Linked DNA regions of Homo sapiens: all the other regions are linked to region 1. Evidence: promoter capture Hi-C in 16 types of primary human blood cells and fetal thymus (Javierre and others, 2016). All regions are on one chromosome and are shown on one strand. Each heading gives the region's core, a stretch centred on a gene start or on the middle of the fragment in contact. The rest is flanking DNA. Distances are from core to core; before and after follow the strand shown.

Region 1 (3,949 bases), core at 904-3,403:
GTTACAACAGAAGTCTATGTTCTCCAGGCGGATAAGCATAATCTGTCACTTTACTATCTAAAAATTATGAACTCAAATTAAAAGTCAAGGGAGTAAAACGGAGAGAATTCTGGAGGCCAGCCCGAGTCTGAGCACAGCGCAGGGTTAAAGGAAACCATTTCATAAGATCAAATGTGGAGAGGCAGCAGGAGCAAAGAGGAAAAAATCAAGTTACATAAAGTCCAATTGTACTCACTGTTTCCTTATTGGGAAGCAGCTCCTTTCTAATTCTGAAGAAGTTCTTCCCGTACTGCCTGAGTCCCTTAACGAAGCGTTTCTGTGATAAAAAGAAACAAATGGGATGTAAAAACCAAAAACAAAACAGGATGTCAGCAAAGCAAAGATATCTACAATCAGCAGAATAACAACCACAAAAAAAGTCTCGGCTAGGGAATACTGCCGAGGCTCGGAGAGTATGTCAGCAGCTCAGCTGGGACCCACTGGCCAGGGCAGGCCCCAGCTACCTTCATCAGAACCCCAATCCCACCCACCACGCAGGGCAGCGCGTTTAAGAGAAGGACGTCCTGCGTCTGAGGCTAAGAAGCAATCTGTCCCCCTCTTCCACCAGGCACACATTCTGGTGCACGAAGGTATAAATATGCTCCATGTTTTAATAAAACACAACTGCTTTCCCACCTGAGAACCAAGCTTCCCAGAAGTGTCGAGCAGAAAGGGGAAACAGAACCAAACCCGGTGACTCTTCTCCAGAAGGGAACCCTAGGGGGTTAAAAGGCCGCTTTCCTTAATCCAAAGAATTTGCCAGGAGGCACCGGAAGGCACCAGTATCACAGAAGCCCACCGGGAACACGAAAGCCAGCGGGCCTGCCCCACCGTCCGTCATTAAAAGCCACTCCGAGACACCAGAGAATAACCAGCACCCCTTCCGCCCTCCCGACGCCACTCGCCGCCCCCATCCATTTTCGCAGCAGACTCGTCCCTAACCCCAGCCCGGAGACTTTCACTTTGTCCCATGCCTCCCGAGCACCCCTCCCCGCCCCGGTGGGGGCAGCTCCTGGCTCCGAGCCCCCACCTCGGGGCTCCCAGCCTGGTCCCGGGCGGCCGACCCCAGCAGCCACAGGTAAGCGCCCGGGGTCCGGGGCGGCAAGAGGCCGTCGCCTGTCACTGGGCTCCGGCTCCACAAAGCGCAGGGCGGAGGCGGCCGCGGGTGGCTCGGCGTGTGACCGCGGCGGGGCCGCGCGGCGCGGGGCCCGGGGGGCGCGGGGCTGGGGCCGCCGCTGACGGGGGAGGAGGCAGGAGCGCGGCGCGCAGAGCCCGGCGCGGCCGCGGGCGGCTGCAAAAGGCGGCCTGGATTGCCGCCGCCCTCCTGTCCGCCAGCCGGGGCCCCGCGCCCCGGCCCCGGCCCCGCCCCCGGCCCGACCCCCACCCCGAGGCCGGAGCCTCCAGGGCACCCGGCGCTGGAATCTGTGTCCTCCTTCCGGACAGGAGAACATCAAGGCGGTAAAGCACAGAAACTTCCTCCCTACCGCAGCAAGCGTGGGGAGAGGGCGCCCACAGGGCTGGGGCCCTTCCCAGGCTGCTGGGTCTCCAGCCCACGTTCCGGATGGACGAAGTCGGCTGCGCCCCGGCCGCACGCCCTCCGCCCCAACCCCGCCTCAGCTGCGAAACGGGGGGCTGGCCCCGACGCCCCCCGCGGTCCCTTCCGGCCCGCGATTGTGGGCGGCCTCTCCCTGGCGGCCCAGGCATTAGCCTGCACTTCCCCGGCCGCCGCTTCACAACTAAATCACCGCGGAAGCTTCCCAGCCAATAAATCACCTGCCCACCGGGCAGAGGGTCCCTCCCACTCCCTGTGTTTGAGACCCGCCAGGCGGATTCAGTGAAGGGCCAGACTTAGCCTTTTAAGACCAGTCTGCAACCTCCTACTCCAGTAGTGGAGGCTTTGCGTTTTTGAATTTCACCCTTGCTGAGATATGACTCATCATTGTCAATTTTCAATATAATTCATACAGTTCGAAGGGAAAATCTCTCAAGGCACAAGAAAGCAGCAAGCTCTCCTCTAGTGTGAGGAGTGACCTTTGTTACTTGACAAAAGTATCGTTTATATGATCAACAGGCATCCTACGCTGTGTGCACACAGCATATCACCGGGAGAGACGGCACGGAAAGATGGCCCTGCCCTCAAGGAGCTGCAGTCTGCCCAGGAAGGCAGACAGGTAAACAAACCAGTCCTAGGGCCTGCAAGAAAAGCAGCAGAGGAACAAAGGGTGGTGGGTGAAGCTAGGAAGAGGAAGCAACTTACTCTGCTTGCTGATGTCTTAGAGGAAGTGACAAGGAAGAGTGTGAGCCTGCCAGGTGGGCTCCAGCAGGGCTTCCAGCAGAAGTCAGCCAGGAAAAGGCACAGGGAACATTCTGGGAACTGCAAGGAGGACAGGGTGTGCAGAATGGAGTGCCAGCAGATAAGACGAAAGAGGCAGGCAAGGATCCGGTTGCAGAGAGCCCTTCAGGCCGCACGGAAGAGTTCCTAATTGTAGGCTGGCAGAAAGGCTGAAGCTGGAGCTTTCCATGAAAAGACTGGATGAGGACTGTGCCAGTGGCAGTGTGGCCTAAGTGTAGATTAGGGACAGACCAGTTAAAGAGGCTGCTGACACAGTTCAGGTATGAGATGAGGACCTCAACTACTGGCACACTCCACCTCAGTAATCAGAATTCCTGCCGCTTAATCCATTCTTCAAGTATTCAGGTATTTACTGAGCACCTAGCTGAGAGGGGTCTAGGAAGATAATAAAGGTTGCCATGGACCTTTACTGAACTGTGATTCATTTTTGCACGTAAGATAAGTATGTGTGAAGTCATTACAGAACATTCTGAGATGTCATCTGGCCAAGCATAAAGAAGTGAGGTGCAGCTCATCAGTGCAGCAAGGGACCCAAGAAGGCTAGACTGCAGTGGTCTGTAGTAGTTCAGAATGCCTTCGCCAAGGCAGTGACATCAGCGAGATCACAAGGGGTGGGCAACTATTGCAGGGGTGGGAGGTGGCTTGGTGACCGGGCCCTCCGTGAAGGTCAGAGGTGGAGAATGGGAGGTGGGTTACAGGGGACAGTCTACACAGACTTGGGGCGGGCAATCTGGAGTGAGCCAGGCTGTGGAACGCCAGGACCATGCAATCGGAACGTGGGCTTGATACCAAGTGACATCTAACAGGTCCAGTAAAAGAGGCCTACACAATAAAGGCAGCATGTGAGAAAGGCTGACTCTGGAACATCAGGGTAAGGTGGCAGAGTTGGACAAACAAATTCAGATCCTGTTTCTTCCATTTATTGTGATGCAATCCTTTGAACATCATCCATTCAACCAATAGTTACTAAGTACCTACTATATGCCAGGAGCCTCATATATATTAATTCGAAATCTTTACAACCTAAGAAGAAGTACAATTATTATCCCCATTTTACAGACAAGGAAGCTGAGGCACAGATAGGTAACTAGATCAACTCCTCAGAGACAAAGCCAGAATTCAAACTTAAGCCCCCTCAAATCCTCAGAGCCACACTCTGTAAAATGCAGGCAGGCGTCTACAGTGGTAACTATTTTCTGTTACCATTTTCTATGAGTCTGTACTTTCCTCTTCTCGGGTCCAATGTCAAATCATAAAGTCCTCAGTATTCTTCCTAAGAAGTGTCTTTCAGCCGGGCGCGGTGGCTCATGCCTGTAATCCTAGCACTTTGGGAGGCTGAGGCGGGCAGACCACAAGGCCAGGAGATCGAGACCATCCTGGCTAACACAGTGAAACCCCGTCTCTACTAAAAATACAAAAAATTAGCTGGGCATGGTGGTGGGCGCCTGTAGTCCCAGCTACTGGGGAGGCTGAGGCAGGAGAATGGCGTCAACCCGGGAGGCGCAGCTTGCAGTGAGCCGAAATTGCGCCACTGCACTCCAGCCTGGGCGACAGAGA
Region 2 (3,949 bases), core at 630-3,129, 340 kb after region 1:
TAATCCCAGCACTTTGGGAGGCCGAGGCAGGCGGATCACGAGGTCAGGAGATAGAGACCATCCTGGCCAACATGGTGAAGCCCCATCTCTACTAAAAGTACAAAAATTAGCCGGGTGTGGTGGCATGCGCACCTGTAGTCCCAACTACTCGGGAGGCCGAGGCAGGAGAATCACTTGAACCCAGAAAGCAGAGGTTGCAGTAAGCCGAGATCACGCCACTGCACTCCAGCCTGGCAACAGATCAAGACTCCGTCTAAAAAAAAAAAAAAAAAGTCCCTCCTATAATTCAGGAAGTGAAGGTGCTAGTTGACTGTTATTTATTCTCACTCAAAAAGCTAACTCAAGGTCAAGAAGACCTCTGCCACCAGCTGCAGTGTACCAATCCTAGGAGGCTATTTCTCAGAACCCCATGCTTCTTATCAAGATGGTTCCCACGCTGTCTTCCCTTTCCCTCATCACTGCCTCCTCCAGGTCAAAGAATATCCCCAGGGCAAGTTGCAGCTGCTCCTTATGCACTCAGCCCTGGCCTCAGAGTACACATGGGTTTTGCCTCATCTATGACTCTTGGGGGAAGCTTACTATGCAGAGAGCAACTGCAATGTGTCGCTCTCTATAGGATCCCAGCCAGGTGCCTTAGTGCCATCGGGAAAATGAGAGGAAACAAGGAACACACAAAAATCATGAAATACTGCTTCGGGTACTAACTCCAAGACAGAATTTTTTTCTTAAGTTAAATGTTTAAAAACAAAAAAAAGCTACAGTCATCTATGTATTCAGTCATCCAGTCAATCCCATGCCAAGTATAATCTCTGTTAACTATGCTTAGTGTGGTCAGAAAGGAAGTCTAGATAAACAATCACAACAACAGAGTGGGCTGAATGCAAACAGCCGGGGTTCAAGGAAGGCTCCCTGAAGAAAATTACCTGTAAACTGAAGCAAGCAAGAGGTGACCAGGCTAAGAAGAAAAGAATGTTCACCACACAGCCATTACTCAGGGACGTAATTCACCCAGATTTCTATTTTTAAAAGATCAAAGGCTCCAAAAAAGCAAAGGGCCAGTAAGCACAAGACAGAGGCTCAACCTCATTAGGGAAATGCAAATCAAAACTGTAAGATACCACTTCACACCCATCAGAATGGCTACAATCCAAAACCCAGATAGTAAGTATTAGTGCTAATGTGGAAAAACTGCAAGGTTCATGCATTGCTAGTAAAATTGTAACATGGTGTAGCCACTTTGGAAAACAGTTTGTCAGTTTCTCAAAATGTTAAACAGAGGTTCCATACCCCCCAAAAATTTCACTCTTAGGCTTTGGAAGTCACCCCAAGAGAAATGCAAATACACATCCTCACAGAAGTTTGTACATGAACGTTCACAACAGCATTTTTTTAACAGCCAAAAAGTAGAACCATTCAAAGTGTCCATCAACTAGTGAATAAATAAAATGTGGCATAGCCACACAATGGACTATGATTTGGCATTTATTGGGAATGAAGTACAGATGTTATGCTACCACATGGGTGAACCTTGAAAACATTATACTAAGTCAAAGCAGCCAGTTACAAAAGACTACATGATTCAATTAACGTGAAATGTCCAGAATAGGCAAATCCATAAAGACAGAAAGAAGATTAAGGGCTGCTTAGGGCTGGGGGATGAGTAGAGGAGGAAATGAGGAGTAACTGCTCATGGATACAGGATTTCTTCTGGGCATAATTAAATGTTCTGAAATTGCAGTGATGATTGCACAACTCTGTGAACACAAAAAACAATTGAATTGTACAATTTAAGTAGGTAAATTATATGATATGTGAATTGTATCTCAATAAAGCTGTTATAAAACCAAACAAAAGGCCGGATGCGGTGGCTCATGTCTGTAATACCAGCACTTTGGGAGGCTGAGGTGGATGGATCACCCGAGGTCAGGAGTTCAAAACCAGCCAGGTCAACCTGGTGAAACCCCATCTCTACTAAAAATACAAAATTATGCCAGGCGAGGTAGCTCATACCTGTAATCTCAGCACTTTGGGAGACCGAGGCAGGCGGATCACAAGGTCAGGAGATCGAGACCATCCTGGCCAACATGGTGAAACCCCGTCTCTACTAAAAATACAAAAATTAGTAGGACATGGTGGCACGTGCCTGCAATCCCGGCTACCCGGGAGGCTGAGGCAAGAGAATCGCTTGAACCAGGGAGTCGGAGGTTGCAGTGAGTCAAGATCGCACCACTGCACTCCAGCCTGGCGACAGAGCGAGACTCCGTCTCAAAAAAAAAAAAATTAGCCGAGTGTGCTGGTGCATGCCTGTAATCCTAGCTACTTGGGAGGCTGAGGCAGGAGAATCACTTGAACCTGGGAGGCAGAGGTTGCAGTGAGCTGAGATTGCAACACTGCACTCCAGCCTGGGCAACAATGAAACTGCATCTCAAAACAACAACAACAAAAAGAAAAAACAAACAAAAGATCAAAAGGACTACAGCAGTGAAGAACAAAATTTCTAATTTTGTTAGAAATTAGAGGATTTGAACATGCCAACTGGTTTGGAATCTATAAAGTAATTCAAGCAAGAGACAGTGGCCAGGTGCAGTGGCTCACGCCTATAATCCCCGCACTTGGGAGGCCAAGGCTGGCAGACCACTTGAGGTCGGGAGTTCAAGACCAGCCTGGCCAACATGGTGAAACCCCATCTCTACTAAAAATCAAAAAATTAGCTGGATGTAGTGGCACGCACCTATAATCCCAGCTACTCAGGAGGCTGACGTGGGAGAATCACTTGAACCCAGGAGGTGGAGGTTGCAGTCAGCCAAGAGCCAAGATTACACCACTGCCCTCCAGCCTAGGCAACACAGCAAGACTCCATTGCAAAAAAAAAAAAAAAAAGAAAAGAAAAAAAAGAGAGAGAGAGAGACAGTGGCCTGAACTAGCGTAATGGATTAGGAAGAGATAAGAGATACAGGAAAAAGAAACAATACTTGATTCTATATAGTGGGGAGAAGAGAAGGAATCAACACAGCCCAGGGTTACTTACTTAGAAAATTGAGTAGCATTTATCAAAACAGGAAAACACAGAAAGACATGTTTGGGAGCAGGAAAATTCACAATATTGTGAAATTTAATTATATTTACAAAAGTTATATAAGGACTTAGAGAAGGTTTTAAGAAGGTTTTGTTTTAAGGTTTTGTTGGAAGCTTTCTTGGGCATTTATCTAATTTTAAAATGCAATTTAATGTTAGTTATGTTTATAAGTAGAACTGGATATTTAAACAGAATTCAACTTGAATTAATCAACATGTATCAAAAACTGCATTATTTTTCTTTTACCTTTATATAAAATGTACTGAATTAATGAATAGACTAATATGATTTATAAACTGAACTCAAGGCTCAAGGAAAATTGGACTTTAAACTTTTTAACAATAAATTGACTATTCATTTTCTACACCAGAAACTGTAAGTAGTTGGGTATCACTGGCATGTAGCATTACTGGTTGAAAACCGAGAAGTTCTAATTTGATGGCTTCTATTTTCTCTGGAAATGAGGTCATCAATTCAGGAAATGGAACGGAAGGATGGGTGGTATGAGAAAGTAGACCAGGAATCCAAGGTTTGATACATAATTGAAATAAAAGCAATGGAGGCCAGGCACAGTGGCTCATGCCTGTAATCCCAATACTTTAGGAGTCTGGGGCAGGACAATTGCTTGAGCCAGAATTTGAGACCAGCCTGGGCAACATGGTGAAATCTCATCTCTACAAAAAGCAAGTCAAAATTAGCTGGGTGATGTGGTGCACATCTGTATTAATCCCAGCTACTTGGGAGGCCAAGGCAGGAGGATCACTTGAACCAGTAGGTGGAGGCTGCAGTAAACCAAGATTGCACCACTGCACTCCAACCTGGGCTGCAGAGTGAGGCCTTGTCTCAAAAAAAAAAAAAGAGAAAGAAAAAAAA
Region 3 (3,949 bases), core at 558-3,057, 320 kb after region 1:
TATTACTGTCTGTTTTCTCCCACTAGAATATTTTCTCCATGAATTAAGGAATATTTGGGTTTGTTTCACTTGCTGCTGCTTCCTCAGCACTTAGAACTGTGTGTTGAAGCACAGTAGGTGCTCAATAAATAGTGGTTGAATGAAAGAAAATAGACAGTCCCAGAAATTAATCTTAATACTGATGCTGTGAAATGAAAAGCTCTCAAAGTGGGAGTGGACATACTTTTAAGAGATGATTCCCTTTCATTTAACTTAAAGCCCAAAGGACTTTTCAAAATGAAATTGTTATTCCAACTACACCCAAAAATCATTAAGGCTGCCCCTGGGTGCTCACGTACGTTTTAACAAAAAGCAAGGAATTCTATGTCCTGCTAAAGCAATGGAAAACCCTGATGTAGAAAATGTAAACTGCTTAAGTTCCATATGTGGGTAGTAACGATTTACACCACACCACTTATAACATTATGAGGGTCACACTAACCACAGGGAGAATTCCGTTTCACCTTTGTTTTTCCACATACATGCCCTCTAATAATACAACTCTTCACAAACACTGTATTAGCTGCATTCTTAAACACGCCTACTATCTAAAACATACACAGCAATGTAACTGATGGGTACATTCTCAATCAGGTAATTTTGATAGAAAAAGTATACCAACCAGTGTGCCATTTGGCCATTAAAACAATAGGAAAGACAGAACTGATCTAAATAGCTCATAATATGGTCTAAAAGAGATGACCTTCAAACTTTAGCGATAAAATAAGAAAACACAGAAATAGAGGTGTTAATCAGTTAACAGAAGTCAGTAAGCTAAAACGTACAAAGTTCTACACTGCATTTTGTGGTAAGAGACAAATAAAATATATGTTCCCCATACAAAAAGACTTCTTAAATCTATTAAGATGGAATAAATAGTATGTACAGGATAATGGAGACAAATGCCCATAGTCTAAAATGGAAAACTTCAAAATCACCTAGACCCAAGAAAACAAAAATCACATATTAGGACAATTTGATTTTCCCATGACATACGTGGCGCTGTAGATGCAGTTTATCCTACCTCCAGTCAAGTGGGTCCATGAATAGAAACTCTCAGGTATAAACCACTCCTCTACCACTTCACCCCAGGGCATTCTAGTGACTTCCATGGTGATTTGGTTTGGCTGTATCCTCACCCAAATCTCATCTTGAATTGTAATCCTCATAATCCCCACGTGTCTAGGGAGAGGCCTGGCAGGAGGTGATTGGATCACAGGGCAGTTTCCCCCATGATGTTCTAGAGATGGTGAGTGCTCAGGAGATCTGAGGGATTTATAAGGGGCTCTTCCTCCTTTGCTCCTCACTCGCTCGTGCCACCTTGTGAAGGTGCCTGCTTTGCCTTTTGCCATGATTGTAAGTTTCCTGAGGCCTCTCCAGCTACATAGAATTGGGAGTCAATTAAACCTCTTTTCTTTATAAATTAAACAGGCTCAGGTATTTCTTTATAGCAGTGCAAAGACAGACTAATACACATGGTTACGTTTCTCTCAACTACTGACACTTGGCATGTCCAGCTATTATAATTTCATTTCTATCTCCCAAATGTTTTCCATCTGTCCCATTCCATTCCAGACCACCGTTGGCCTAGGTTCAGCTGTCATGATCGCCTGGCTAAACTGCAAAAGGAGGTGCGATGACATTATACTCCTGCTTAAAACTTCTACAGGATTCCACGGTTCACTGAATGAAGTCTAAACTCCTTAATACTCTAATATACGGATTGGACCTCTGTCCTCAGCCCCTTCTCTTCCAGGCTTGAACCTCCATGTCTTGGCATACATACTTTTCCACCCCCTAACATATATTCCCTTTCTTTTCTGTTTTAAAACATCTTTCTTACTGGTCGTGAACGGTGGCTCACACCGGTAATACTAGCACTTTGGGAGGCTGTGGTAGGAGAATCGCTTGAGCCCAGGAATTCAAGACCAGCCTAGGCAACACAGGCAGATCTTATCTTTACAAAAATTAAAAATTAGCCAAGCATGGCAGCACATGCCTGTGGTCCCAGCTACTCGAGAGGCTGAAGCAGGATTGCTTGAACCCAGGAAGTTGAGGCTGCAATGAGCCATGATCCTGCCACTGCACTGCAGCCTGGGCTGCTGAGCAAGAGCCTATCTCAAAACAAAACCAAATAAAATTCCTCTTACTTTTGAAAGGCCCAGTTTAAATGTAACCTCTGTGAAAATTTCTTTGATCCTCACAATCAGAATTATTTGTTGCCTTCAGGGTATTGCCAAAGTACTCTGTTTATATCTCTGTTCAAAGAGATTGTATCTATGTTAACGTAAATCATAGTCTGATGATAGCTTTTGTCTGTTTAACAAAGCACCCTCCTTACTGACTTTACTCTAGGGAACTACCACTTCATATGGGGACCTAATAACATGTAGTTTGGGTGGATCCAGGGTTGCTCACCATACTAAATCCTCCTGGCCACCATGACTTGTTCAAGAATGGACCCATGTCTCAGTAAGAACCACTGAGAACCCTCCCCATAACTTCTGCTAGAACCACCAGAAGAAGAAAAAAAATACAAAGCCTATTTTATAATAAATTTGAATATCTCATGTAACTTATTGAATACAGAAAGTGAAAAACAAAATGGTTATATGGTACTCAAAGTATGGTTTCTATTGACTGTGTATCATTTTTGCACCATCATAAACTTACAAAATTCTAAGTCAAAGAATCATAAGTCAGAGACTATACTGACATACGAGTCATGATCGTGGTCTGACTTACATTACAATTAATTGTACTCAGGGCCAAAGAAACAGTTATAAGAGGACACCTGGCAGATAAGAGAAACAGCAAGAAGGCCTGTGTGGCTGGGGCAAGCAAGTGTGGGAGCGTGTATGGGGGGGAAGTGAGAGAGAAGGAGGGCAGGCAGGGGAGGGAGGGGAGAGAGAAGAGAGATGGGGGAACAAAAAAGAGAGAGAGAGAGAGAGAGAGAAAGGGAGAGGGAGAGAGAGACAGAGCCAGACAGACAGACACCCCAAGATGGCATTGTGAAAGGTCAAGCTATTGCAAAGTCCCAAGCAGAAGAGGGACAGGATCTGACTTAACTTTCTTTTTTGTTTTTTGAGACGGAGTCTCGCTCTGTCGCCCAGGCTGGAGCGATCTTGGCTCACTGCAAGCTCCGCCTCCCGGGTCCACGCCATTCTCCTGCCTCAGCCTCCCGAGTAGCTGGGACTACAGGGGCCCACCACCACACCCAGCTAATTTTTTGTATTTTTAGTAGAGACAGGGTTTCACCATGTTAACCTGGATGGTCTCGATCTCCTGACCTCGTGATCTGACCACCTCGGCCTCCCAAAGTGCTGGGATTACAGGCATGAGCCACCGCGCCCAGCCCTGACTTAACTTTTAAAAGGATCCTTAGGCTTGCTGTGTTGTGAAAACAAATGGCATGGGGGTGGGCATGGAAGTGGGAGGTGGGCAGGGAGAACAAGACCTGTTAAGAACCTGCTAGGGTAACCAGGCCAGAGGTGATGAAGGCTCAAAGAAAGTTTTGTCCAATTTTTTTTTTTAAACACCCTAATTTTTTTTGCTACCAATTACAACTTTGGAAAGACAGATAAATCAACACATGATATTCATACTTGATTTACTGAGTATCTACTATATTTAAGACACTCTAAATATTACCTTATCTAGTTACAGAACTATCTTCCTAAACTCAAAGCCCATATGCAAACGGTGAACTGGAATTCTCTAACTAAATATCCCATACACATTTTACCCCCAAAACCTAATCCTCCTTTACTCTCTAATCTCATTATCTCATTAATATTATTTCCTAGCCTAGTTGTTACTAAAGATAATAAGAGAGTAGGTATATTTGAGACAGAGCTTTGCTCTGTCGCCCGCGCTGGAGTACAATGGCACAATCTCAGCTCACTGCCGA
Region 4 (3,949 bases), core at 938-3,437, 300 kb after region 1:
CACTGCAAGCTCCACCTCCCGAGTTCAAGCAGTTCTGCCTCAGCCTCCTGAGTAGCTGGGATTACAAGCACACGCCACCACGCTCGGTTAATTTTTATATTTTTAGTAGAGATGGGGTTTCATCACCATGTTGGTCAGGCTGGTCTCGAACTCCTGACCTCGTGATCCACCCGCCTCGGCCTCCCAAAGTGCTGGGGTTACAGGCGTGAGCCAACGCGCCCGGCCAGGCAATTCCAGTTTTTCTAAGACAGTATTGTAAACCAAGCAGAGATATTCCCTAGGGCCATATAATTCTGATACATTAGCTAATCTTTGTAAGCCAAATCAGAGCACTTCTTTCCAAAACTCACATTTCTACCAAACCGGGACACCGTGTGGTGGGGAAAGAGTTCAGAACACCTGGTATATTTTTCCAAAGCAAAATTTAACTTTCCATTGCCAGGAGAAGCATGAACATGTTGACTTATACTGCCCTCTAGAGTCTCCTTCTAATATTTTTTAGCCTGAAATAATTAATTCTAATCATAAGACTCTTCTAATTACTCAAGCTTTCAGTATTCTAATATTGTAAACTGACGTTTATTTATTTATTTATTGAGAAGAAGTCTCCCTCTATTGCCTAGGCTGGAGTGCAGTGGCACGACCTCAGCTCACTGCAACCTCCACCTCCTGAGTTCAAGCAATTCCCCTACCTCAGCCTCCAGAGTAGCTGGGATCACAGCCATGCACCACCACACCCAGCTCATTTTTGTACTCTTAGTAGAGACGGGTTTTCACCATGTTGGCCAGGCTGGTCTCAAACTCCTGACCTCAGGTGATCCACCCGCCTTTGGCTCCCAAAGTGCTGGGATTACAGCATGAGCCACTGGGCCCAGCCAACTGACCTTTTTTCAGTGGATTAGTAGTCTTTTTTTTGGAGGGCGCGGGGTGGGGGGAAAGGAGTCTCGCTCTGTAGCCCAGGCTGGAGTGCAGTGGCGCGATCTCGGCTCACTACAACCTCCGCCTCCAGGGTTCAAGCGATTCTCCTGCCTCAGCCTCGTGAGTAGCTGGGATTACAGGCATGCGCCACCATGCGCAGCTAATTTTGTATTTTTCATAGAGACAGAATTTCTCCATGTTGGTCAGGCTGGTCTTGAACTGCCGACCTCAGGTGATCCGCCCGCCTCAGCCTCTTAAAGGGCTGGGATTACAGATGTGAGCCACCGCATCTGGCTAGTAGTCATTATTAAAACATACAATATTTCAATTACCCACTGTTTTTTATTTTTTTGTTGTTTGTTTGTTTTGGACAGCGTCTCGCTCTGTCGCCAGGCTGTTGTGCAGTGGCACAATCTCAGCTTACTGCAACCTCTGCCTCCCGGGTTCAAGCGATTCTCCTGCCTCCGCCTCCCAAGTAACTGGGACTACAGGCACGCGCCACCACGTCCAGCTGATTTTTGTATTTTTGGTAGAGACGGTGTTTCACCATGTTGGCCAGGATGGTCTTGATCTCTTAACCTCGTGATCCGCCAGCCTCGGCCTCTCAAAGTGCTGGGATTACAGGTGTGAGCCACTGAGCCCGGCCAATTACCCACTATTCTTAAAGGTCAGCAGTACTTCCCCAAAGGACAGGAATGCACCCCAAACAGAATCTTCTAATTTGCTTATTTAAAAAAAGTTTTAAATAGCTCAAACTGCAAAGACTTCTAAAACAAAGACCACTTGTAGCATATATTAATTAATCCATGTAGCCCAGAGTTTTGTCTAGCAAAACCCAAGTTCACACATTTGACCACATGCACACGAACCTCAGCCAACGCAGCCAACGCTCCCCAGAGGCTACTTCTGCAGCTAAGCATCTGTCCTTTCAGCTCCTGGCAGTTCCTGCCTTTTCTCTTGCCAGGCAACCAGAGCTCTAAAGGGATCTTAATGCACTAATGAGAAGCCATGACAACCAAGACCTGCGGTAGCTGCAAAGCACAAACACCAGTATCCACTTTTACTGAGCACGCATGCAATAAGCAATGTGCTAAGGAATCCAAGTAAATTAAAATCATTCCTCTAACCTAATAACTCCATAGGCACCTATAACACACCATAACTTGAAACTTTCTATCATTCTTTATATTTAAGAACTTATTAAAAGGCAGGCTTTACCATGCACCACTGGTAGTATAGCTTGCCTCAGCTGTTATAGTAACTATAGAAGTAGGGTTATTTTCTTGTTTGTTTCAATCTAGAGTCATAAGAGACCATCAAAAAAAAAAAAACCCTATTGAAACCATGTTTAGAGCGAAAAAGTCTATATTCTTTTTAGGGGATTAGTAGTCACCATTAAAAGGTATGATATTTCAATTACCCACAGTTATTTGAGATCAGCAGTATTTCCTCAAAGGACAGCACCTAAAACGGAATTTTCTCTAGGCACCTGTGGTATACCATAACACCAAAAAGCATCCCTCAAAAAAGAAACTAAAACTAAGATGCTATGCTCCATACCCAGATATCTGTTATTACTTCTGAAAACAATCTAAGTAATCTTGGGGATCCCATCCAGTAGATAAAAACGATGGCATCCTTTGGGGCATAAAGTGAAGGTAAGATTTCCACAGGCTCTGAAACAGCAGCTAGCAACTAGGGCCAAGAGACTGCACCTGTTTTTGAAAATAAACTTTTATAGCCAGGCGCAGTGGCTCATGCCTGTAATCCCAGCACTTTGGGAGGCCGAGGCAGGTGATCATCCGAGGTCGGGAGTTCAAGACCAGCCTGACCAACATGGAGAAACCCTGTCTCTACTAAAAATACAAAATTAGCTGGGCATGGTGGCGCAAGCCTGTAATCCTAGCTACTCAGGAGGCTGAGGCAGAGAATCGTTTGAACCCGGGAGGTGGAAGCTGCGGTGAGCTGAGATCGTGCCACACCATTGCACTCCAGCCTGGGCAACAAGAGTGAGACTCCATCTCAATCAATCAATCAATCAATCAAGTTTTATTAGAAGTCAGCTACACCGATTTTTTTTTTTTTTTTTTTTTATTGAGATGGAGTCTCGCTCTGTTGCCCAGGCTGGAGTGCAGTGGCACAATCTCAGCTCACCACAACCTCTGCCTCCCTGGTTTCAAGTGATTCTCCTGCCTCAGCCTCCCAAGTAGCTGGGACTACAGGCACGTGCCACCATGCCTGGCTAATTTTTGTATTTTTAGTAGAGACGGGGTTTCACCACGTTGGCCAGGCTGGTTTCGAACTCTTGACCTTGTGATCCACCCGCCTCGGCCTCCCAAAGTGCTGGGGTTACAGGCATGAGCCACTGCACCTGGCCTTATTTTTTTATGTGTATTTTCTATGGTTGTTTGTCTTCCCACTACAATGGCAGAGTTCCATACTTGAAACAGAGACCATACAACCTGAAAAGACTAAATATTTACTATATCTGGCCCTTTACAGAAAAAGACTGCCAACAGCAAACATCTCCAGCCTTCTCCAGATCACAACTTAAGAGGAATGTCATGTGCATGAGGCTAAGGAGTGTGGGCTGGCTTGAGATGGAAAAGGGGATTATGACTGCTATCCACCCTATACTACATATTAAGAAAATGAAATTATGGGAACTCATGGGAAGAAAGAATGACAGATGCAGCTGATTCCTCCCATATGATGGTTCACATCAGGCTTTTCCAAAGACTGAATGAAGAGCTCTAAGGTTTTCTTTCAGGTATTTAAAAAATCTTATGTAAGGGATGGCAGGGGAAAATAAAATTTTCTATATAACATACTATTTCACTCACATCAATGTTACACTGAAGCTCACACCTGAGATAGGCTGATATTTCTTTCAAAGAGAAGATTTCAAGTAAGCTTCCAAATAGCTATGATAATGTGTATGAATAGAACCAGATCCCAGAATGAACTTGAGGTAAATACCAAGGACTGAAATCAGTGAACCATCAAAACAAATATACTTGTCAAACATACA
Region 5 (3,949 bases), core at 906-3,405, 290 kb after region 1:
ATAAGTGTCAAAATTCTAACTATCAAGTTACCTGAGACAATCAACATTCTTTCCTATAGCATTATCCAGTACAACCATTCAGACCAAGTAATTTAGCTCACCCATGTCAAAATGTCAAAAGTACACCCCAACGTCATCCAGCAAACAGTGACTGAATCCAGGATTGTATTAGTACCAGTTAGCTATGTCCGCATAGGATGCTAGGGTGGAGAGGATTTGATTTGTAACACAGTACTCCACTTTTATCCACAGTTTCGCTTTCCAAGGCTTCAGTTACCCTGAGTCAACTACAGTTCAAAAATAGGTGACTAAGGTACAGTAAGATACTTTGAGAGGCCACATTCATATAATTTTCATTACAATGTATTGTTATAATTGTTCTTATTATTGATAATTTAATTTCCCTTATAAATCAAATTTTATCATAGGTAGGTATGTGTAGGAAAATAGTAAAAACAGGGTTCAGTATTATCCAGTTTCAGGAACCCACGGGGGCCTTGGAACACATTCCCAAGGGTAAGAGGAAACTACTGTCCTATACAGAATACGGAGGGATATGGTTTGGCTCTTTGTCCGCATCCAAATCTCATCTTGTAGCTCCCATAATTCCCACATGTTGTGGGAAGGACCCGGTTGGAGATAACTGAATCATGGGGGCAGGTCTTTCCCATGCTGTTTTCGTCATAGTGGATAAGTCTCACAACATCTGATGGTTGCTTTTTTGTTTTTGTTTTTGTTTTTGTTTTGAGGCGGAGTCTCACTCTGACCCCCAGGCTGGAGTGCAGTGGCATGATCTCAGCTCACCGCAACCTCTGCTCACCACAACCTCCACCTCCCAGGTTCAAGCAATGCTCCTGTCTCAGCCTCCCAAGTAGCTGGGGACTACAGGTGTGTGCCACCACACCCAGTTAATTTTCTATTTTTAGTAGAGATAGGGTTTCACCATGTTGGCCAGCTGGTCTGGAACTCCTGACCTCACTGAATCCACCCACCTCAGTCTCCGAAAGTGCTGGAATTACAGGCATGAACCACTGAACCCGGCCAATCTGACGGTTTTAAAAATGGGAGTCTCCCTGCACAACCTCTCCATCTCTTTGCCTGCTGTCATCCATAGAAGATGTGACTTGCTCTTCTTTGCCTTCCGCCTCCCCAGCCACGTGGAACTGTGAGTCCACTAAACCTCTTTTCTTCCCAGTCTCTGGTATGTCTTTATCAGCAGCATGAAAATATACTAATACATGGAGTTACAATTTTAAGCAAACTATCTACTTCTTTTGCTTTTCCAACTCACCAAAATGTCACTAGACAACAAAAACTCTGGAGTTTTTTTTTTTTTTTTTTTTTTTTTGAGACAGAGTCTCACTCTGTCGCCCAGGTTGGAGTGCAGTGGTGCAATCTCGGCTCACTGCAAGCTCCATCTCCTGGGTTCACGCCATTCTTCTGCCTCAGCCTCCCGAGTAGCTGGAACTACAGGTGCCCGCCACCACACCCAGCTAATTTATTTTTTTTGTATTTTTTTAGTAGAGACGGCGTTTCACCGTGTTAGCCAGGATGGTCTCGATCTCCTGACCTCATGATCTGCCCGCCTTGGCTTCCCAAAGTGCTGGGATTACAGGCGTGAGCCACCGTGCCCGGCAACTCTAGAGTTTTTAAAAGAAAAAAGAAAAATATAAAATTCTTGAAGCTCTTTTAGATTTTTTAATTTTTTTTTTTCTTATATTGAGACAGGGTCTCAGTATGTTGCCCACGTTGGTCATGAACTCCTGAGCTCAAGCAATCCACCCACCTCGGCCTCCCAAAGTGCTAAGATTACGGGTGAGCCACGGCACCCAGCTCCCTTGTAGATTTTTTTTAGAGTATATGGTCCTACGGAAAATCCAAGCAATTCCACTTAACAGGCTGAAGGTTTACCAGGCTCTTCTCTAGAACATAGGTACAAAAGCATGCACATATACATAAAAACATATGTATTCATTTGTCTGAGGGTTCACTTGTTGATTTTTTGTCACAAAGATGAAATCCCACTATTTATGTTATACAGCAAGTCACTTCTCTCACTTTACAGAAGACCATTAACATCCCATTCTTGTTTATTACTGCAAAGAACTGAACAGTGTGGGAGTCCCATAATTATTATATAACAAGCCCCTTATTGAGTCTTTTTCACATTTTTTACTCTTATAAACAGTGCTACAACAAACTTCTTTGTGCATACATGTATTTCTACACTGAAGGAATCCCTAGTTCAATGAATATACACTCTTTCAGAGAGAGTCAAACAGCCATCCAAAAGCTGTACAACTTATACTCTTACCAGCAGTGGGTCCTGGTCCTGTTCCCATACTCTTATTCTGGTTTTTGTTGGTTTGGTTTTGGATTAGGCACTCTCTTGGATCTCCTACCTTTCTGGCGATTCTCTCTTTCTTTCCATGACTCCTCCTAAATACAAGTAGTCCCTGTCAAGCCTCCTTTTATCACATTCGGCCATCTCACATCAGTGAAAAGATCCACTCTCAAGCTGTTTCTGTGTTTGTGATTCCAAAATTTGATTTTTCCAGCTGAGCTTGCTTCTTAGCAAGAGGCCCACATATGCAAATGCCCTATGGGTTCCACCATAATGGCATTCCACAGACACTCTCAATCCCAAACCAAATCAAAATGTTCTTCCCCCTAAGTCCTGGGGGGACTGTTGCAATCTACGTAATATACTCTTGAATATACTGTTGCAGTCTACGTAATATACTCTTGAAAAATAACTAGAAATAACATCAGATTATAAAAAGAAAACAAAAAGCCCAAGACAGACTGGCCTTTAGTAAAACTCTGAATAGCACACTTTAAAGTGAAATAACATAGGTACAACATTAAGGTTGGGCATTAGTTACAACCTTCCTTCATGTTTTACTTTCCAACATAGTCCCAAACATAGATATTTGTTTGTTTGTTTGTTTTTTGAGACGGAGTCTCGCTGTGTCACCCAGGCTGATGTGCAGTAGCATGATCTCGGCTCATTGCAAGCTCCGCCTCCCAGGTTGATGCCATTCTCCTGCCTCAGCCTCCCTAGTAGCTGGGACTACAGGTGCCCACCACGCCCGGCTAATTTTTTGTATTTTTAGTAGAGACGGGGTTTCACCGTGTTAGCCAGGACGGTCTCAATCTCCTGACCTCTTGATCCGCCTGCCTCAGCCTCCCAAAGTGCTGGGATTACAGGCGTGAGCCACCGTGCCTGGCCATAGTCCCAAACATATTTAAGAGTGATAGGCCAGGCGGAGTAGCTTACACCTGTAAACTACTGGGATTACAGTAGCAAAGTGCTGTAATCCCAGCACTTTGGGAGGCCAAGGCGGGTGGATCACTTAAGGCCAGGAGTTCAAAACCAGCCTGACCAACATGGCAACACCCCATCTCCATTAAAATTACAAAAATTAGCTGGGCATGGTGGCGCATGCCTATAATCCCAGCTACTCGGGAGGCTGAGGCAGGAGAATCACTTGAACCTGGGAGGCGGAGGCTGCTGTGAGCCCAGATCGAGCCACTGCACTCCAGCCTGGGTGACAGAGTGTGACTCTGTCTCCAAAAAAAAAAAAAAAAAAAAAAAAAAAAAAGGGAGTGATAAACTGCTAATAAGTATTTAAAGTATTATATCATGAAATACATTATCAGCATTATAAAAATATACTCCAGAAAACAAAAAATACAACTTTCCACTAGGCTCCCGGGGGCATCACAGCAAACTGTTATGACATTAGTCATCAATCGAAGGTCAGGCCTGGAGGTTTTAGTTTTTGGAAGTGTGCAGCCGTCTCATGGATGTAGCCCTAAACCAACTTCAGACAGAGAGCAAGACCTCTTAGATAGCACATGCTTTAAATATGTTTAAGGACATTTTCATTTTTATTTCAAAACTCACTAGAGATCTCAGACTGTGCAGATCAAATTATTAAATTCC
Region 6 (3,949 bases), core at 551-3,050, 260 kb after region 1:
TCAAGCAATCCTCCTGCTTCAGTCTTCCAAGTAACTGGGACCACAGACACGTGCCACCACAGCCAGCTAATTTTTCAATTTTTTGTAGAGACAAGGTCTCACTATGTTACTCAGGGTGGTCTCAAACTCCTGGGCTCAAGCAATCCTCTCTTCTAGGCTGCCCAAAGCACTGGGATTATAGGAGTGACATACCACACCCAGCCCAAATTTGGATTTTAAAGAACTAATTTGATGCTTCCATAGAGAGGAACTTTTAAACTACACATTTCCTGATTCAACAGTTTACCTACTACACACAGAAAGGCTTTCCAGGAAGCATTTTATATTTGCTAAATAACGGTAAGTAAAATATTTTAAAGTCATCCAAGTTTCAATAACAATTATCATTACTTCCTTACTTTGAAAGCTACAACCATATTTCCAAGTATTAAAACAACAAAATACAAATAATCCTAAGAAATCCACAATAAAGATTTATCTATTAAGGCCGGGCGCGGTGGCTCACGCCTGTAATCCCAGCACTTTAGGAGGCCGAGGTGGGTGGATCGCGAGGTCAGGAGATCTAGACCATCCTGGCTAACACGGTGAAACCCTGTCTCTACTAAAAACACACACACAAAAAAACAAAAAAAATCAGCCGGGTGTGGTGGCACGCCCCTGTAGTCCCAGCTACTCTACTGTTTAGAATCGTTTTCAATGTCCAAAAATGTGACTGCTTTAGAGATGCCAAATAAGACTAATTTAAATAACCTAAGATTGCTCCAATTACCGCTGGTTTTTCAGGTGGTACAATGTATAAACCAAAGAAAAGAAGCTGGTGCATAAAACTCAGCTGGCTGAAGAAGTTAAAAATAAAACTCCACAATGATATGTGGTTTGGGGAAAAACATCAGAGTTCCATTTAGACATGTTAAGTGTTAGGTGCTTACTGGACATGTGAGTGGAGCTATATCTTCTGAGTGGAGATACAAGGAAGGCAGCTAAGTAGGTCTGGACTAAAGATAACATTTTAAACTCTTTAGGTAATTTTTTTTTTTTTTTTTGGAAACAAGGTCTCACATCCATCACCCAGGCTGGAGAGCAGTAGCACGATCTCAGCTCACTGCAGCCTCGACTTCCCAAGCTCAGGCAATCCTCCCACCTCAGACTCCCAAGTAGCTGGGACTACAGATGCACATCACCATGCCTGGCTAATTTATTGTATTTTTAGTAGAGACGGGGTTTTGCCATGTTGCCCAGGATGGTCTTGAACTCCTGGGATCAAGCAATCCGCTCGTCTTGGCCTCTCACGGTGCTAGGATTACAGGTGTAAGCCACTGTGTCTAGCCTGCATTTAGGTAATTTTTAAAGCCATGCATCCTAGGGAATTACGTAGAAATTCAACAAATATTTATCAGACACCTATTATGTGCTGGAGATAGAGCAGTAAACCAAAGAGTCAAAATTCTCTGTCATTCAGGACTTTACATTCTGGTGGAAGAAACAAGACAATAAGCAATAAAAATAAAGATGTAGCCGGGCACGGTGGCTCATGCCTGTAATCCCAGCACTTTGGGAGGCCAAGGCGGGTGGATCACCTGAGGTCAGGAGTTCAAGACCAGCCTGGCCAACATGGTGAAACCCCATCTCCACTAAAAATACAAAAATTAGCTGGGTGTGGTGGTGGGTGCCTGTAATCTCAGCTACTTGGGAGGCTGAGGCAGCAGGATCACTTGAACCCGGGAGGTGGCGGTTGCAGTAAACTGAGATTACGCCATTGTACTGCAGCCTAGGCGACAAGAGCGAAACTCAGTCTCAAAAAAAAAATAAAGGTGTAGTTTGTGATGAAGACAAGTACTCTAGGGGAAAACAGAGCAGAGTAAGGACAAAGTAGAGCCGAGACTGAGGGTCAAGGTAGGCCTCTCACTGAGACTCGAAAGCGGGACGGTGAGCTACAGATATTTGGAGAAACATATCCCAGGCAGAAGGAACAGTCAGTGCAGAGGCCTTAGTGATCATCACAAGGGCAGTTTCCCTGGAGCAACAACGGATGGATTTAAGAGGAAAGGAGAACTGGAGATCTGGGTACAGAAAACTCTTGTTGAGAAGTTTTTCTGCAAAGGAAGCAGAGAAATCAGCAATAGCTGGCAGAGTAAGTGGGATCCAAATACGGGAGTTTGTATCTGTTTTAAGATTGGAGAAAAGCGGCATGTTTGTATGCTGCTGGGAAAGATCCAGCAGAGAATGAAACATCAACATTATGAGAGACAGGAAATTACTATGTGAGAGGGCACGGGTGGCGCCTCAGAGAGTTCCCTGAACAGCTGGTCTATACACAAGCAGTGGGGAAAGCACAGGATGCCCTGGAAGGTGGCAAGATGTGGTAGGAGTCTGCAGAAGGGCTCTTAAGACTGTTCTGATTTTCTCATGCAAGTAGGAAGCCCACCATGAGGCCAAGGAGGAAGTATAAAAGGACAATGTATGAAACAGGCATCTAAGAAACTGCATAAGTGAATGGACTTGCCCAGGAGCCTTAAAGCTCCATTTGACGTTTATTAACCAATTGGGAATTAACACTGAGAAACTCACCAAATCTGAGACATAAAGGCTGACTCTGACTTTCTACTATAAATAAAAAATTCTCTAACAAACTGCTGAAAATGGTCAGTGTCTAACATATTTGAATATACAATACTTGGGGAGAGTCGTAATTTCTCCAAATAATGTGTTGAAAGAGATTACATCCCATTTTCACACCATATTCATAATTGCTTCGTCATACATAACTTGAAGGGAGTCATCAGTCATTGAAGGATTTAATAACCTTAAGCTGAAGTTAACTCCCTTATGTCAGACCACAGTAAACAAAAGCAGGGTTTTAATGCCTTAAGCCAATTATATATTGCAAAGTAAAACATCTTATATTCTTATTCACAGAAGTACAAATTTAGTTTTAGTTTAGTTATATTCTTATTCACAGAAGTACAAATTTACACAAAAAGATTATCTAACAGCATTCAATTAATCACCAAGAACTGCCATATAAAAATCTATTTCTAATAATATGGTCCTGGTTGCACAACTCTATGAACACAGATGGTCCCCAACTTAAGAGGGTCTAACATACGATTTTTTCAAATTAACAACAGTCCAAAAGTGATACGCATTCAGTGGAAAACATACTCTAGGTAACCACACAACTATTCCATTTTTCACTTTCAGTTCAGGGCACAGCGACTAACGCCTATAATCTCAACACTTTGGAAGGCCAAGTCAGGAGGATCGCTTGAACCAACGAGTTTGAGAGGAGCCTGGAGAACATGAGACCCCTATCTCTACAAAAAATTTAAGGCCAGGCATGGTGGCTCATGCCTGTAATCCCAACACTTTGGGAGGCAAAGGCGGATGACCTGAACTCAGGAGTCGAAGACCAGCCTGGGTAACATGGTGAAACCCCGTCTCTACTAAAAATACAAAAATCAGCTGGGCGCAGCACCTGCTATTGTAATCCTAGCTACTTGGGAGGCTGAGGCAGAAGAATCCCTTGAACCCAGGAGGTGGAGGTTGCAGTGAGCCAAAATTGTACCACTGCACTCCAGCCTGGGCAAAAGAGTAAGACTCCATCTCAAAAAAAAAAAAATTAAAATTAAAATTAAAAAATTAGCCAGGCATAGTGGCACACACCTGTAGCCTCCCAGCTACTCCAGAAGCTAAGGTGGGAGGATAACTTGAGCATGGGAGCTATGATCGTGCCACTGGGCAAAACATCTATCTGTCTGTCCATTTGTCCATCCATTCATCCACTCATACATATATACCATGAGATATCCAACACTTTCTTATATAATAGGATTTATGTTAGATGATTTTGCCCAACTGTAGGCTAATGCAAGTGTTCTGAGCATGTGTAACATCGGCTAAGCTAAGCTATGGATTTTGGTAGATTAGGTGAATTAAATTCATTTTCGAC

The links. Contacts are between HindIII fragments. The CHiCAGO score rates a contact against its expected background, and 5 or more counts as called.
Region 2: a contact is called between a fragment that was not itself captured here and the fragment with the promoter of RERE-AS1 in region 1, in 2 of 17 cell types (naive B cells and total B cells). The highest score is 7.3, in naive B cells.
Region 3: a fragment that was not itself captured here is called in contact with the fragment with the promoter of RERE-AS1 in region 1 in 1 of 17 cell types (total B cells); the score reaches 6.1 in total B cells.
Region 4: a fragment that was not itself captured here is called in contact with the fragment with the promoter of RERE-AS1 in region 1 in 9 of 17 cell types (total B cells, activated CD4 T cells, naive B cells and 6 more); the score reaches 10.3 in total B cells.
Region 5: a contact is called between a fragment that was not itself captured here and the fragment with the promoter of RERE-AS1 in region 1, in 14 of 17 cell types (total B cells, naive B cells, megakaryocytes and 11 more). The highest score is 18.5, in total B cells.
Region 6: a contact is called between a fragment that was not itself captured here and the fragment with the promoter of RERE-AS1 in region 1, in 6 of 17 cell types (total B cells, megakaryocytes, naive B cells and 3 more). The highest score is 8.5, in total B cells.

What each region holds. Positions count from the first base shown.
Region 1 is chr1:8,422,492-8,426,440 of GRCh38, forward strand. It overlaps RERE-AS1 (RERE antisense RNA 1), which reads left to right and starts at 2,154. Exons shown (of 4, transcript NR_125999.1): 1 at 2,154-2,210. It overlaps RERE (arginine-glutamic acid dipeptide repeats), which reads right to left. Exons shown (of 23, transcript NM_001042681.2): 12 at 236-316. RefSeq lists silencers at 954-1,293, 1,604-1,743. The HindIII fragment of the contact is 3,073 bases long and covers 1,791-3,949 here.
Region 2 is chr1:8,763,684-8,767,632 of GRCh38, forward strand. The region is part of intron 1 of RERE (arginine-glutamic acid dipeptide repeats); the gene reads right to left. Among named protein-coding and RNA genes, the nearest start is that of RERE, 52 kb to the right of the region's middle. RefSeq lists an enhancer at 388-437. The HindIII fragment of the contact is 2,615 bases long and covers 573-3,187 here.
Region 3 is chr1:8,743,905-8,747,853 of GRCh38, forward strand. All of the region lies in intron 1 of RERE (arginine-glutamic acid dipeptide repeats), which reads right to left. Among named protein-coding and RNA genes, the nearest start is that of RERE, 72 kb to the right of the region's middle. The HindIII fragment of the contact is 5,613 bases long and covers 1-3,949 here.
Region 4 is chr1:8,726,228-8,730,176 of GRCh38, forward strand. All of the region lies in intron 1 of RERE (arginine-glutamic acid dipeptide repeats), which reads right to left. Among named protein-coding and RNA genes, the nearest start is that of RERE, 89 kb to the right of the region's middle. The HindIII fragment of the contact is 3,283 bases long and covers 547-3,829 here.
Region 5 is chr1:8,707,583-8,711,531 of GRCh38, forward strand. The region is part of intron 1 of RERE (arginine-glutamic acid dipeptide repeats); the gene reads right to left. Among named protein-coding and RNA genes, the nearest start is that of RERE, 110 kb to the right of the region's middle. RefSeq lists an enhancer at 2,741-3,241. The HindIII fragment of the contact is 6,249 bases long and covers 1-3,949 here.
Region 6 is chr1:8,684,955-8,688,903 of GRCh38, forward strand. The region is part of intron 1 of RERE (arginine-glutamic acid dipeptide repeats); the gene reads right to left. Among named protein-coding and RNA genes, the nearest start is that of RERE, 130 kb to the right of the region's middle. RefSeq lists a silencer at 2,302-2,351. The HindIII fragment of the contact is 4,572 bases long and covers 1-3,949 here.